5 separate regions of the Homo sapiens genome follow, and regions 2, 3, 4 and 5 are each linked to region 1. Evidence: promoter capture Hi-C in 16 types of primary human blood cells and fetal thymus (Javierre and others, 2016). All regions are on one chromosome and are shown on one strand. Each heading gives the region's core, a stretch centred on a gene start or on the middle of the fragment in contact. The rest is flanking DNA. Distances are from core to core; before and after follow the strand shown. Region 1 holds the start of MAP7 (microtubule associated protein 7). Region 2 overlaps BCLAF1 (BCL2 associated transcription factor 1). Region 3 overlaps MTFR2 (mitochondrial fission regulator 2). Region 4 overlaps BCLAF1 (BCL2 associated transcription factor 1). Region 5 holds the start of SLC35D3 (solute carrier family 35 member D3).

Region 1 (2,700 bases), core at 13-2,512:
GCTCTCTGGACCTTTCACGTTAAAATAAGCATACTTGATGGTGGGGAGACAGTGATTCTTACATTTAGGAAACAAATGCTTCCGATTGTGACCGTATGGAAGTGGAAAACAGCTTGCAATTGGAGAGTCTAAGAATTGAATTTCTTTTTAAAGTAAGAAACTGCCTCACTGCCCCCATCCCCAAGTGTAGGAAGATATAGAAACAGCTTACTGGCCAAGAATAGAAGAGGGAACCAGTGGAGAGGGACGGATTTGCAAGATAGCCTCTGGAGAAAAAAAAATCACGAGGGAGAAAAATCGGCTTCATACTATGGAGAGATGGGCGGGGTTGGGAAGCCTTGCTGCTGGTCTTGGGAAGCCTTGCTGCTGGTCTTGGGGACGTGATCCCCTGTCCCTAAGTGTGCCCCTGGAGGTTGTGGGGGAGGGGTATCCTCAACACAGAGGCCTGACCACCAAATCCCGGGCTGCAGAGCCAACAATCCTCCTTTGGGCTCCTGCACAGACTAAAAACAAAAAACTCTGAGAACTCCGACAAGTCAACGAAAGTCTGATCCCGTCAAGCCCGCACTCGCAAACCCCCACCGTGCTGCACTGGGCCCCGGCCCTCCCGAGCTCGGTCCCCTCGGACGACGGTCGTCGCCACTGCGGGCACCAGATTGGGGGGCGGGCCGCTCACCCCGCGGTCCTGCCCCACACCGACCCCGCTGAGGAGCCCCCGGCACCCGGGGCGACCAGGGAAGGCGGGAGGAGGTGCCCAGAAACTGCTCGTCCTGCCAGTCGCACCTGGCCGACGACTCTCTGGCCACTGGTTTGGTCTGGGGGATACGATTTCCCATTCAACTGAATTAGACCCGAGGCCGCGGCGGGGAGGGCAGCGGCCGGGGTCTCTCCGTTTCCTCCCCCGGCTCGCCTCCACCTGTTGCGGGAAAGTCGCGGTGGAGCGCCCGAGGGCGGCCGCAACCCCGGCCGGGGCCGAGCCGGGCTGGCCGAGCCGCGGCGGCGAAGGGCGGGGGAAGGCGCTCTCGGAGCAGGGTGCGCGGCGCGCAGGGCCGGTTGTTCCGGGCCGCGGCCGCGCGGGCGGGGAGGGGGCTGCCGGCGCCGGGTGATTTCGGTGCCAGCCCGCCGGCCCCGCTCGCCGTCCCCTGCCCGACGGGACCCCCACTATCCCCGCTGTGCGGTCACCTGTTTCGCTTCGCACTGCGCCGTCGCCGCCCCTGTGGCCGTCGCCGCCAGCTCCTAGCTCCGCCATGGTGCTCCGATGACGCGCCCGGAGAGCCGCTCCGCCCTTTCCTCGGCTTGGCTCCCGCCGGCCCCCGCCTCCCAGGCCAGCGGCCCAGACAGGTGAGCGCAGTCCGGGGATGGCGGAGGGCGGGGACAGAGAGCGCGGCAGTCGGCTGCGGCCTGGGCCTGGCGCGCCCCCTCGCGGGCAGGTGCGGCGTGGCAGCCGCTCCGACCGCCGCTGCCGAGTCTCGGCTGGAAGAGCGGCGGGCGGAACCAGTACCTCAGTCCGGAGCTTCCGGTCGCCGCGGCCGACCAGCTGAGGGCTCCCGGAGATATGGAGCGGGGTCAGCGAGGCCTGGTGGCGCCTCCTGGAGTCTGGGACGAGCGGCGGTCCGAGGAGCAGCCCAGGTGGGGCGAGGGTACGGAGACGCTATTTCCCTCCGAACTCTGAAGTAGCCAGGTCAGTGTCGGCTCCGCGAGGGCTGGAGTTCACGGTGACAGCCGGCAGAGCATCTGATGCCACGTGGAGAGGCGAAGTACATGGGTCGGATTCCACGCTGGGAGCCGGCCTGGATCTGCGCTTTAGGAAGCCACTGCGGGCGACCCTATCTTGTCGCCAGGACTTCGCATCTGATGAGCCTCAGGGCACACAAGTTAGAGAGGCTTGTGCCGGCTGATGTGGCTTTTCTTTTTCTTAGTTTCCGTTTAGTAAACGACCTTGTGACTTCTGGCTTGCTCAGGAAGACCAGAAAAAAAGGCAATAGGTAACGAATTTTTCTTTTTTTAAAGAAACAGATTATTGGCCGAGGAAAAACCAATTTCGCTCTAAAGGATAAGCAACAAAATACTGAGGGGGGAAAAAGCCTACACAAATGGAAACATACGGCACAAAATCAAGGAGCGACCAGTTCCGCATGGTTACACTAAAATGCACTGCACTCCCACTCTCTGGCTTGGCTGAAGATAACCAGCAAGCTCTGAACAGTTTAAAAGCCTTCCAAGGACTGCAGCAGCACTGGACACACAAGAGAGTCGAGAACAGTATTGGATTTATTGTTAGGGTTACAATTTTCACGATCTTTGCATGCAAAACTTGCCACTCTGAGCCCAGTGAACTATTTTTATTTGGTTTACTTACTGGCTTTCTGGATGACTAGGTAGAGCTTTAACTAAAGAACACTTCTGCTGTGGTCTGTGATGATGAATTTTCCCGTAGTGTCATTTCTATAATGGAATAGGCAAACTGACCATTTAGAATGTGATATTCCTAAATCACATTCAAATCAGTCTTATCAGAGACTTCTAATCAATAAAAATAAAGCACCAGATGGCTAGAGGTAGTTTTTGACCTCAGCTTGGGCCTCAGCAAAGATTTTTTGTGTTTTTTTTAACTACATTAAAACATCAGAGTTTAAGACACTTTTCTTTGAGCATCAGAAATACTCTCAGCTGAATTTAGAGTTGAACTATCCGGAAGAA
Region 2 (2,700 bases), core at 29-2,528, 290 kb before region 1:
CATTTCTCCCAGCTGACAAATCCCCTTACTGCAGTATCTGAACACGATTACTCAAAAATCTGATTCCTCAGTTATATGCTGAGGTGGTATTACTCTACAAGTCTGTATCTTCAAGCCATTTGAATAGTATGCTGACATTAATCAGTTAATTACTGTAATCTTTTTTTTTTTGAGACAGAGCCTAGCTCTGTCACCCAGGCTGGAGTGCAGTGGCATCATCTCCGCTCACTGCAGCCTCCACCTCCCAGGTTCAAGTGATTGTGGTGCCTAAACCTCCCGAGTAGCTGGGATTACAGGCAAGTGCCATCAGCCCAGCTAATTTTTGTATTTTTAGTAGAGGCGGGGTTTCGCCATGTTGGCCAGGCTGGTCTCGAACTCCTGACCTCGGGTGATCTGTCCGTCTCAGACTCCCAAAGTGCTGGAATTACAGGCGTGAGCCACCACACACAGGCCTATCTTTTTTTAAAGTACATTTGGTAATGATATTCAACTTCTTCCAAAAACAATTCTGGAGTGGGGAAATCTTTTGGTAAGGTAAAAAATAAAAAATAAATTAAACCTGCAGGCTGGATATGTGAGAAGTAAATTAAAATTTAAAAATTCTGGCCAGGCACAGTGGCTCACGCCTATAATCCCAGCACTTTGGGAGGCCGAGAATTAGACTAGCCTGGCCAACATAGTGAAACCCCGTCTCTACTAAAAATACAAAAATTAGCTGGGTGTGGTGGTGCACACCTGTAATACCAGCTACTCAGTAAGCTGAGGTAGGAGAATCGCTTGCACCTGGGAGGCGGAGGTTGCAGTGAGCCGAGCTCGAGCCACTGCACTCTAGTCTGGGTAAGACTCCATCTCAATAAATAAATAAATAAATAAATAAATAAATAAATAAATAATTCAAAGTGCATTTAACATTCTTTTTCACGGCCACCTTACAAGTATCCTGAGAACTCAACAGAAAGTTTAGTTTTCCCTTCTAGTACAAATGAGACTGAAAAATTATTTTCCATAGTGAAGGACTCAAGGTAGCAAATAATCCACTATTCTGGAGGGTGAGTGGTATTTTTTATTTATTGTTGCTCTTCGCATTCCATGAAATTTGTAATCACTATGACAGTACCAAGCAAACACAGTTCAAGCTGTGATTATAAATCATTTCACACCACCTAAACATACAGTGTAGCTATGATCATGTACTTTTATTAAAGGCAGAGCTCATTATTAATGAAATCTGGAAGCTGGCCAACCCCAAAAGATTAAGAAAAATTCGATGTATATTCTTGGGGGAAAGGCATTAAAGCCTGCTCACCCAACCTTTTTCTATTTTCAAGAATATTACCTTCTGCACTTCATAAGTGCTACAAATCAGTTCACTGTGGTAAAACACCAAAAATATCCATAGGAAAAATTTTCCTATATACAGATTACAATTAAGACACATTATTTGAATGTTTCTAGTTGTGGTGGAATGCTATCCTAATAATGCCTGTTCTCTTTAATCAGTGAGATTCATTTTTAAAGGCCAAGGTATAGTCTAGTAACATAAAAAGAACTGGTACCCTTAATTAAATGTACAAGTTTGGTCTCATTACCATCATTGACACAAGTTAATCATTACTGCATGTTTCTAAAACAATAGGAGTCCAGCTCATAAATCAACACAATCTCTGTGGCTCTCAAGTCAATTAAATACAACTAGATTCCATATATTCCTGAATCCTAAGAAATGTAAAACTTGTTCATTTAAACTTCATTAGGACAGTGTACTAATTTTTAGTATCTACCCCAATAAAATTTGAAACATTTAATAATAGTATCAACTATTTGAGAACTCTAAACATGTAATGGATATTACTTTCTCATTTTAAGGCTCAAGAGATTGAGTCTAGCCAAATTAATCCCAATGACAATGAAGTTTATTCCTCCATTTGCCTTTCCTCTTCAACTCTGTAAATTGAGAAAGGCCTCTGAACTTCTCTTTCTGGATGTGAAAGTCTATTATTCCACAAGGAAACTTAAGGTACATCCCCACCAATGGGATTCCAGTTGAAACCCAGAAAAAGAAAAATAAGAAAAGTTAAACAAATGTTAATAATGCAGCATACTTTTATATAAGAAATTTGTATATAACATTACAATTATCCAGTATAATTAAGCTACCAATGATCTTACACAACACTTTACATGCATATGTATGTACACACAGAGTTATTTCTCTCACAGAATTTTTAAGGACTAATTTGCCATTTGTATGAGTCAAAATGTGTCAGTTTGTCTTAGTACACAAATTTCTGTGAAAATGCTTTGTTAAAACTGACAGGATGGCACATGGTAAGAATTATACCACATCTTACTTAAAGTGAATGAAAAGACAATTCTTTTTACTTATTTACTAGCTACTATGTTTTTAGAAAGAGAAGTAATCACCATATTATGGGTGATAAGGTCCCAGATTAACGTAAGAAAACGAGGACTAAACTGGACATCCAGAATTCCTTTATTTCAAAATAATTTTGGCTTAGATTTACCAACTGTAAAATTTCCCATTTTCCCAGGGGAGACAAGGGAAAAACAAAAACAAAAACAAAAACAAAAACAAAAACAAAAACAAGACAAAACAAAAAAACAGTAAAGAAAGGTTTGAGGGAGTTTATAAAGCATTTATCAAGCCTTACCACACCAGTAATCTTCCTAACAGATGCG
Region 3 (2,700 bases), core at 33-2,532, 310 kb before region 1:
TGAAAAAGCTCTAGAGATCTGTTGTACAACATTGTGCTTAACGATACTGTATTATACACATAAAAATTTGTTAACAGAATAGAGCTCATTATGTTTTTTCACCACACACACACACACACACACACACACACATGGAACTCAGAGAGGCAATTATTAACTCTAAAAAAATTATTCAACAAATAAAATGTAGTCAAAATATATGAAATGGGGCCAGGCACAGTGGCTCACACCTGTAATCCCAGCGCTTTGGGAGGCCAACATGGGCAGATCGCTTGAGCTCAGGAGTTAGAGACCAGCCTGGGCAACATGGCGAAACCCCATCTCTACAAAAAAATACAAAAATTAGCCAGGCATGGTGGCACATGCCTATAGTCCCAGCTACTAAGGAAGCTGAGGTGGGAGGATCACTTGAGCCCAGGAGGTCGAGGCTGCAGTGAGCTGTAATTTCAACACTGCCCTACAGCCTGGGTTACAATATGAGAAATGGCTTACTGTGGATGTTCACTGTTATAATAAGGATATTAATTCTGAATACTCATTTAACTAAAGATTGTGGTTTAACTATTTCAGGAAGACGTGGCAAGATGTGTGTGTGTGTCCTGGGTAGAGTATCTAAGAAAATATATTCCTAATATCCTACAATTGGAAGTCAACATAATTAAAATATCAAGAAATAGCAAATAAGTATGTTGTTTCAAAAATATGGTGATAAGAGACTAGAAGAAGAAATAGTCAAAAATAATTGAATGTCATTATCTCTAGGAGAGGTATTCAGGGGTGAAGAAGAATAAGAAAAAAGACATATATGTTAATTTTCATAAACATAATAATTTTTCTAAACATAAAATTGACAAAATTTCAGTTCACTTTTCAAATTACAACAACATACCGCTCAATTGCACGAAGCTTAACCTTATTCATATCCTTTAGAACGTCCAACATGTTTGGAATATCTTTATTTCTCTGGCTTTTTGAATGATGACTATAATTGGTCTTATTAGCAGCCGGGTTCTGTTTGCTCATTTCAGTTGCTGGATTATCTGAGTCACAAATATTATTAGATCCTGGTTGTACGGGAGGAAAACACGGTGGCTGGAGAGATGAAAACTGAGGAGGAAGTGGTGGAGGAGGAGGAGGAGAAAGCACTGAACCTGGAAGCTGATCTGGGTCCACACTCAGATGGGCAGCCCGCGATGATGACAGCTGACCCAAACTAATGCGCTCGTCACTCAAGCCAAAGGAACCTACAAACAAAGTGGTTTATTACAAAATCATGCACAATTATCTCTAACGTAATATATATTAATAACACTAATTAGAACCAAAACAGGAGCAATTTCTGTAATGCTAGTAGCGATATGGTAGCAAGGAAAGAGTGTCAATCCCATCTGCTTAGTAATTTAAGAGTCAAGTCAAATTGTGAATTCATTTTTAATCCAGTTAGGAATTTTCAGTGTAGGTCCAAGAGCAGAGCGGGGAGGAGAATGCATCTTAAACAAACAAAAAAAAGAGTTTTTTCAGTAATTCACATACACTCTGAACTTCATCCTCTATTTTAAAAAAGCTAAAACAGAAATCAACAACTTGTAGTTAGAAACACAAATTGATGTATTCACTGTATAATGACATTGGAGAAATAAGCATATTATTTTCTAAGCAAAGCTTAAGATGGGTACTGAGTATTTAACTTTTCCACTTTAAGATTTGCTCATAAAGGACTGTGGGTAAACACGATTGCTTAAGAAAACTGTGTATAGTTATATATCATTTTATTTATTATGTATAAATATAAGTTATTGTATATTATATAATGTGTTTATATGTAAATGTTATAAATATACACTGTATAAATATCTTAAATTATATGTGTATTTATGCATTTGTATATATACATATGTATTAAAAAATTTTTAGCAATTATATTTACACACAGCCCTTTACAGCCAAATCTGTTGTGAAAAGCATTCAGTACCTAGATTGCTTTACATTTTATACACGCATACATACATGTTGTGTGTATGTGTGTGCATAAGTTTAAAGCAAGTTGTATCTCTATAAATTTATAAAACAATCATCTGGAAAACATGACTCACCTCAACTTGGTGGAAGTGTAGCAGCAATAACTAAAAACTATAAACATATGATGCCTCAAACCTATATCCTCTTTCAAACCAATGCATTCTTCCTCTTTAATATCCAATGCTTTCATGAAGAGTTAGAAAAGCTTACTGAGGGCCGGGCGCGGTGGCTCACGCCTGTAATCCCAGCACTTTGGGAGGCCAAGGCGGGCAGATCACGAGGTCAGGAGATCGAGACCATCCTGGCTAACACGGTGAAACCCCGTCTCTACTAAAAATACAAAAAATTAGCCGAGCGTGGTGGCGGGCGCCTGTAGTCCCAGCTACTCGAGAGGCTGAGGCAGGAGAATGGCGTGAACCCGGGAGGTGGAGCTTGCAGTGAGCCAAGATCGTGCCACTGCACTCCAGCCTGGGCGACAGAGCAAGACTGCGTCTCAAAAAAAAAAAAAAAAAGCTTACTTAGAAGACAACAGACTTTTTAATACAAAAATACAATCTTCTAGTATAGTAAAGCTAGTTCTTCTTTAAATCAAAGCCATCCCCTCACTACAAATGTGTCTTAATTTATCCTGAATAAACATCAGATATAATAATTTTGTATATTCAACATCCTTTTATGTAC
Region 4 (2,700 bases), core at 17-2,516, 270 kb before region 1:
GGAATACTGACTGCCCACAGATTATTTACTGGGCATCAATATGGAATTACCTGTTAGAATCATCAAGAGGAACAGGTGCCATTTTGAGTTTGACTTCAGGACGGTGAGAATCACTCGCTATCATTTTGATCCTAAGTGGGCTTTCCTCTCTGAAGGTAGACTTTTCTCGTGCATCCAGATTCTTGTGTAGAGGGGGACTGTAATCAAAGAGGTCTTTGAGCTTTTCAGACTTTACCTGCTCAGGTGACTGAGTTTCTTTCTTTACTGTTATTCTTTCAGAATTTTTGTCTTCTTCTTTGTGCTTATCTTTTGTAGTGCTAGGCCTTTCCACTACATATCCAGTCTCTTTAAGTTTATAATTTTTTTCTTCTCTAAATCCATCACTTTCTCTATTGCCTTTCAGTGAAACTTTGGACTTGTACTTGAGTCCTTCCTCCTCAGTATTCCGGTGAGATGCAGTAGCAAAACTTTTACCCTGATCTGCGAGGACTGACTTCCTGAACTGTCTATAATCCTCTGTCTCCTCTGTGTCATCCCCTTCTGAATCATTAAACTTTTGTTTTCCAGACTCTTTATCACTGAAGTAATCTAGAGCTTCCTGATCTTCCCATTCTCCCTCTGCCCTCCCTTTCTCTGATCCTTTCTCTTTTGAAGCCTCTTTATCCCTGGTATTACCCCTATCAAGCAGGAATACTCTAGACTCTTCATCTGTGAACCTGCGAATAAGCAAAGAAGAGGATAGTAACTCTGGATTGCATTCACTGTAGATCGCTTCCATATTTAAATGTGTTGCCCAATCCCTCAGGACCAGCAAGAGAGAAAATAACCCTATTGAAAAGTGCTTTTTCAGATTCCACTTTTAAAAATCATTGAAAGCATCCATATAGAACTTATGTACTGACTTTTAAAATAAATTTACATTTGACTTCTGAAGTTTAAAACACAAAGCCAATCACAAAAACCTGTCCTATTTAGTCACAATCCACAATTCTGCACTAACACGAACTTCTAGAGATTGCCTAAATTTAATTTTTGAAACTAAGAACCACTAATAGATAATACATTGTTAGAATTCTATTGATAATTATCCCCAAAATTCCAGATATTATCTATTAATATAAACAAGAGTTCACACAAATGGATTTAATTACCACTGCAGTAATTTAATACTTTATGAAAATCACAGAACAGTTCATATAAACTTGCTCTAGAAAAATAATGATTTCTGGCACTATTTCATAGAAACTAATGATCAGTTCAATCATAAATTCTAGATTGTGCAGTGCTATTCCACAAACAGCATGTTTCCTCTATTTTCTCACTTTTAAGTCAAATCACAATACATGAAGCAACCAATTTTCACTGTTAGCAACTTTCAGCAACACTTGAAATCAGAATTTAAACAATGTATCTGTTTCAAATGTCATTAGTCAGTGAGAAATACCATTACCTTTTGTATAGTCAGGCTGAAATCATTAAATATTGACAGCCAGACTGTTTATGCCACCTAAGAACATGCAATATAGCTGCATTATTTATGTAGGTCACATTCTAATAGTGAAAAGAACAAAATAAGCCTTCAATGCTTTAAGAAACTTAATTTCTAAAAGGTTTACAGTTATTAGCAACATATATCATTTAGTTATGCTCTAAGCTACTCAACTTCTCCTCATCTGTATTTTTAATTCTGGACCGAAAATGGTAAAATTAAGAGGAGGGATAGAAATTAGGTTTTTTTAATTCTTTTTAAAGAGACAGGGTCTTGCTCTATCGCCCAGGCTGGAGTGCAGTAGGCGCAATCATAGCTCACCACAGCCTTGAACTCCTGGGCTCAAGAGATCCTCCCGCCTCAGCCTCCTGAGTAGCTGGATAAATTAATTTTTATTAAAACACTTAGCTTCCAAAGTTCACCAGATAAGAGTAAAAACAATTTGGAATTATCTTAAAATGAAGGAAGTCAAGAGTAAAAACCGCTAGTTAAATACATATCACAATTTTACGTTTATAATTCCAAACAGAATTCAAAGAACAAAAACAATATTATAATCTAGATTCTGTATTTTAGTTTTTACCTTTTTAAGAACTTCCCAGTCTTTGCAGTTTCCTGATCTCCACCATCAGGATAAAACGAGGAACGGCCCCTAGACTCATCTCTTGGAGCATTCTGTGGTGCGATTGTCTTTGCAGGACTTCTTCGTGAAGGGATGTGATGAATTGGACTATTCTGAGAAGGACTGTATCGACTAGATCCATTTCCAACAGAACCAGACCCAGACCTTTCAGGACTATGCTGAATGGAATGTGAATGCTGAGAAGGAGTATTTTTTGCAGAGTGAACTGTACTGAGCATGGGAGCATCAGAGCAAGATGAACTCTGACTAGGTGGTGTAGCAATAGGTGAAGGACTATGGGGTGATCTAGGACTATTATCATAAGCTGAAAGGCCAGGCCAAATATCACCGGATGTGGCTGATGACTTATTAAATTCATCGATAGACTCAGATGGGTCATGTTCAAATGTATCTTTCGGTTCCTCCTGTGATTTACTTTTCAACGGACTCTCTTCTTGGGGTTCCCCTTCAGCTTTTTTGGTTTGTTTTTCCTGAGACCCTCGTCTTTTAGAAACAGGAGATTTGCTATATGGGGATGAAGAACGAGAAGAGGATGATCTTGGAGACCTAGAAGATCTATATGACCGGC
Region 5 (2,700 bases), core at 200-2,699, 370 kb after region 1:
GGGTGCTGGAGCGCAGCGATCTCGAACCTTTCCCTTATAGCCAAACCCTGGCCAAGGCCACAAATTTCAAATCGCCTGAAAACCAAACTGTCTGGCGCTTAACGGTTACCTCGGCTGAGCGAAACCCTTGGCTGCTGCTGATTTAACTACAGGTCCGCGCGAGTTACTTTCCAGGGAACTGAATTCAGAACAAAGAGTTACCGAAGCCTTACTCCCTCTCCAAAATTAGAATTCCCTTTTTCTCTTAGTCATATAGGAAACACACAGTTCACAAGTCCTGTGGTGCAAAGGTGTGAACCCTGGCCCAGGGAGGTGGTGACTCTCCCCGCCCTCCGCCTGCCGGTTGTCCTGCTTCCGAAAGCAACCCACGACGGTCCCGCAGGGTGAGGGTTCCCTGGGATCAGTTCCCTGGGATCCGGAGAACGCCACGCGGAGTCTCCCTGCAGGGTGAGGGGCCCCGGGTTCCCGCCCCCTCCCCCTCTACTCTCCCATTCTGCGAGCGCAGCCAGCCTCCCCTCCCACGCTTCGGGAAGCGTCGCCCCCGAGCTCCTCGGTTCCTGGTGGTGGCTACTCGTGTTAGTGACTTCGTTTCTGCGCGTTTGCTTATTTTCATCTTTGCCTCAGTTCGAATGTGTCCCCGCCACCAGGCCCCGCTGCTGGGCGAGACCACTGAACCCCCTGAAAGCTTCCCCGGAGCCGCGCGCATAATCCCGGGACCCTCTCTGGAAGGCGTGCGGAGAGCGGTGCGCGTGGCCTGGCACCGGAAGGAGCCAGCTTCCGGGCTCCGAGGCACCCCCTGGACAGCGCCCCGGGCCGCGGGTTCCTCCTCCGATGCCCGGGCGTCGTCGCCGGGATCGGGAGCTTCGGGGGCCCGCCGGCACCGACGGTTTTCGCTTCCCTGGCGGGCAGCTGGACGAGGTCCCGCCGCTGCACCGGGAGGGACAGTGGGTGGAAAAAGCCGCTGCAGCGCCGGGGCGAGGGGGCTGGGGGCGCCGTCACTTGTTGCGACCAATAAACGGCGCTCGATCCTGATGCGCTGTTTCTAAAATCTTTAGCTGTGTCCCGATCCCTCCAACCCAAGCCCCTCGGCCAGGAGGAAGGGGCAAGCGAGAGCCGCTGGCTCTGTGGGGGGAGAGGGGCGCCGCGCCCCAAGAGCCCCCGTCCCGCCCTGCGGCAGCCGCCCCGGGGCGCCCAGCCGCCCGCTTCCCTCCGCAGAGCGTCTTCCCTGACGGTGAAACCGCGCGGGACACAACCCACCGCGGCTCATCACCCACTTACAAATAGCTGTCGCTAGGATTCCCGCCACTCCTCTCAGACCGGCCCCCCCGCCACCTCTGCCACTTTTCGGAGTCCCCCGCCCTCGTCACTGCCTCCCCGGAGCTGCGGGGCAGTCGGACGCAGAGCTGCCTAACCGCAAGAACGCCTGGCCGGAGCTGCCCTCTGCAGCCGAGCCGGCGCCCCCTGCCCTTCGCCGCCGCGCTGGGCGGGCGCCCCCGCCGCCCTCACTCCGCTGCTCCCGGCTCCTCGCGCGCAGGTCGCGGAGCTCCGCCACCGCTGGGTGCGGCGAGGCCGGCGCGATGCGGCAGCTGTGCCGGGGCCGCGTGCTGGGCATCTCGGTGGCCATCGCGCACGGGGTCTTCTCGGGCTCCCTCAACATCTTGCTCAAGTTCCTCATCAGCCGCTACCAGTTCTCCTTCCTGACCCTGGTGCAGTGCCTGACCAGCTCCACCGCGGCGCTGAGCCTGGAGCTGCTGCGGCGCCTCGGGCTCATCGCCGTGCCCCCCTTCGGTCTGAGCCTGGCGCGCTCCTTCGCGGGGGTCGCGGTGCTCTCCACGCTGCAGTCCAGCCTCACGCTCTGGTCCCTGCGCGGCCTCAGCCTGCCCATGTACGTGGTCTTCAAGCGCTGCCTGCCCCTGGTCACCATGCTCATCGGCGTCCTGGTGCTCAAGAACGGCGCGCCCTCGCCAGGGGTGCTGGCGGCGGTGCTCATCACCACCTGCGGCGCCGCCCTGGCAGGTGAGCGGGCCCCCGCGCCGACCCCCAGCCGACCCCACCCACCCCGCTCCGTCGGGCAGAGACCGCGGGGATCACTGAGTTCAACGACCTCACTTCCAGATGGGGAGACTGAGGCAGAGAGAGCCGGAGAGCTTTGAGAGTGGTCGCTCAGCTCGCAAAAGGGACTTCCGAGACCCAGAGAGCTCCCCAGCGCCCCACCAAGTCCCCCTGCCCCCTAATGTCCTGGCTTCCGACCCTCGCCCATGCTTCACCCGGCATCGCCCTTCCTGTCGCCCCCTCTCCTGGTCTTCCCCTGTCACCCCATTCTCCGGGAGAGGTGGGAGGGCCGCCTGAGCCTGGGAGCTGGAGTCCTCCAAGCCTGGACCAAGCCGGAAGGAGGGGGCCGTGAACTTCCTTGGGTCACGAGGGGCTGGAATGGAGGTGGGGGATGGGGGCGAAGCTGAGGGTTCCCGGGGCTACTGCGGGGTGTCTCGTGCTGCGCAGGGGGCTGCGGCCCTGGGGCAGACGACCCAGGTGCTGAGCGAGACGAGAGCCTGGGCAGGGGGAAGCTTCACTGGGGGCCAGAACAGGCGTTCTCCCCCGCGCCTGGCCCGCTCCGGGTTGCAGGCCACTGGCTGGGGCTCCCTCTCCCTTTGGTGCCCCACGGGGCAGGGGCTCCGGGGTGCAGGTACCACGCGCCCAAGT

Evidence for each region. The method cuts DNA at HindIII sites, captures the fragments that hold promoters and counts their contacts. A CHiCAGO score of 5 or more calls a contact.
Region 2: a fragment that was not itself captured here is called in contact with the fragment with the promoter of MAP7 in region 1 in 1 of 17 cell types (megakaryocytes); the score reaches 5.1 in megakaryocytes.
Region 3: a contact is called between a fragment that was not itself captured here and the fragment with the promoter of MAP7 in region 1, in 1 of 17 cell types (megakaryocytes). The highest score is 5.4, in megakaryocytes.
Region 4: a contact is called between a fragment that was not itself captured here and the fragment with the promoter of MAP7 in region 1, in 2 of 17 cell types (megakaryocytes and M2 macrophages). The highest score is 8.4, in megakaryocytes.
Region 5: a contact is called between the fragment with the promoter of SLC35D3 here and the fragment with the promoter of MAP7 in region 1, in 9 of 17 cell types (total CD4 T cells, endothelial precursors, erythroblasts and 6 more). The highest score is 14.4, in total CD4 T cells.

The regions. Positions count from the first base shown.
Region 1 is chr6:136,549,160-136,551,859 of GRCh38, forward strand. It overlaps MAP7 (microtubule associated protein 7), which reads right to left and starts at 1,263. Exons shown (of 18, transcript NM_003980.6): 1 at 1,183-1,263. The coding sequence starts at 1,249. MAP7-AS1 (MAP7 antisense RNA 1) reads right to left here. Exons shown (of 1, transcript NR_186370.1): 1 at 1,564-2,700. RefSeq lists enhancers at 99-637, 1,176-1,713 and silencers at 935-984, 995-1,174, 1,215-1,564. The HindIII fragment of the contact is 6,247 bases long and covers 1-2,700 here.
Region 2 is chr6:136,255,818-136,258,517 of GRCh38, forward strand. BCLAF1 (BCL2 associated transcription factor 1) reads right to left here. Exons shown (of 13, transcript NM_014739.3): 13 at 810-2,700. Among named protein-coding and RNA genes, the nearest start is that of MTFR2, 6.9 kb to the left of the region's middle. The HindIII fragment of the contact is 5,895 bases long and covers 1-2,700 here.
Region 3 is chr6:136,238,577-136,241,276 of GRCh38, forward strand. MTFR2 (mitochondrial fission regulator 2) reads right to left here. Exons shown (of 8, transcript NM_001099286.3): 6 at 890-1,244. Among named protein-coding and RNA genes, the nearest start is that of MTFR2, 10 kb to the right of the region's middle. The HindIII fragment of the contact is 756 bases long and covers 905-1,660 here.
Region 4 is chr6:136,275,793-136,278,492 of GRCh38, forward strand. It overlaps BCLAF1 (BCL2 associated transcription factor 1), which reads right to left. Exons shown (of 13, transcript NM_014739.3): 4 at 2,073-2,700; 5 at 51-716. Among named protein-coding and RNA genes, the nearest start is that of BCLAF1, 13 kb to the right of the region's middle. The HindIII fragment of the contact is 6,928 bases long and covers 1-2,700 here.
Region 5 is chr6:136,920,852-136,923,551 of GRCh38, forward strand. It overlaps SLC35D3 (solute carrier family 35 member D3), which reads left to right and starts at 1,450. Exons shown (of 2, transcript NM_001008783.3): 1 at 1,450-2,016. The coding sequence starts at 1,578. RefSeq lists an enhancer at 472-978. The HindIII fragment of the contact is 1,879 bases long and covers 684-2,562 here.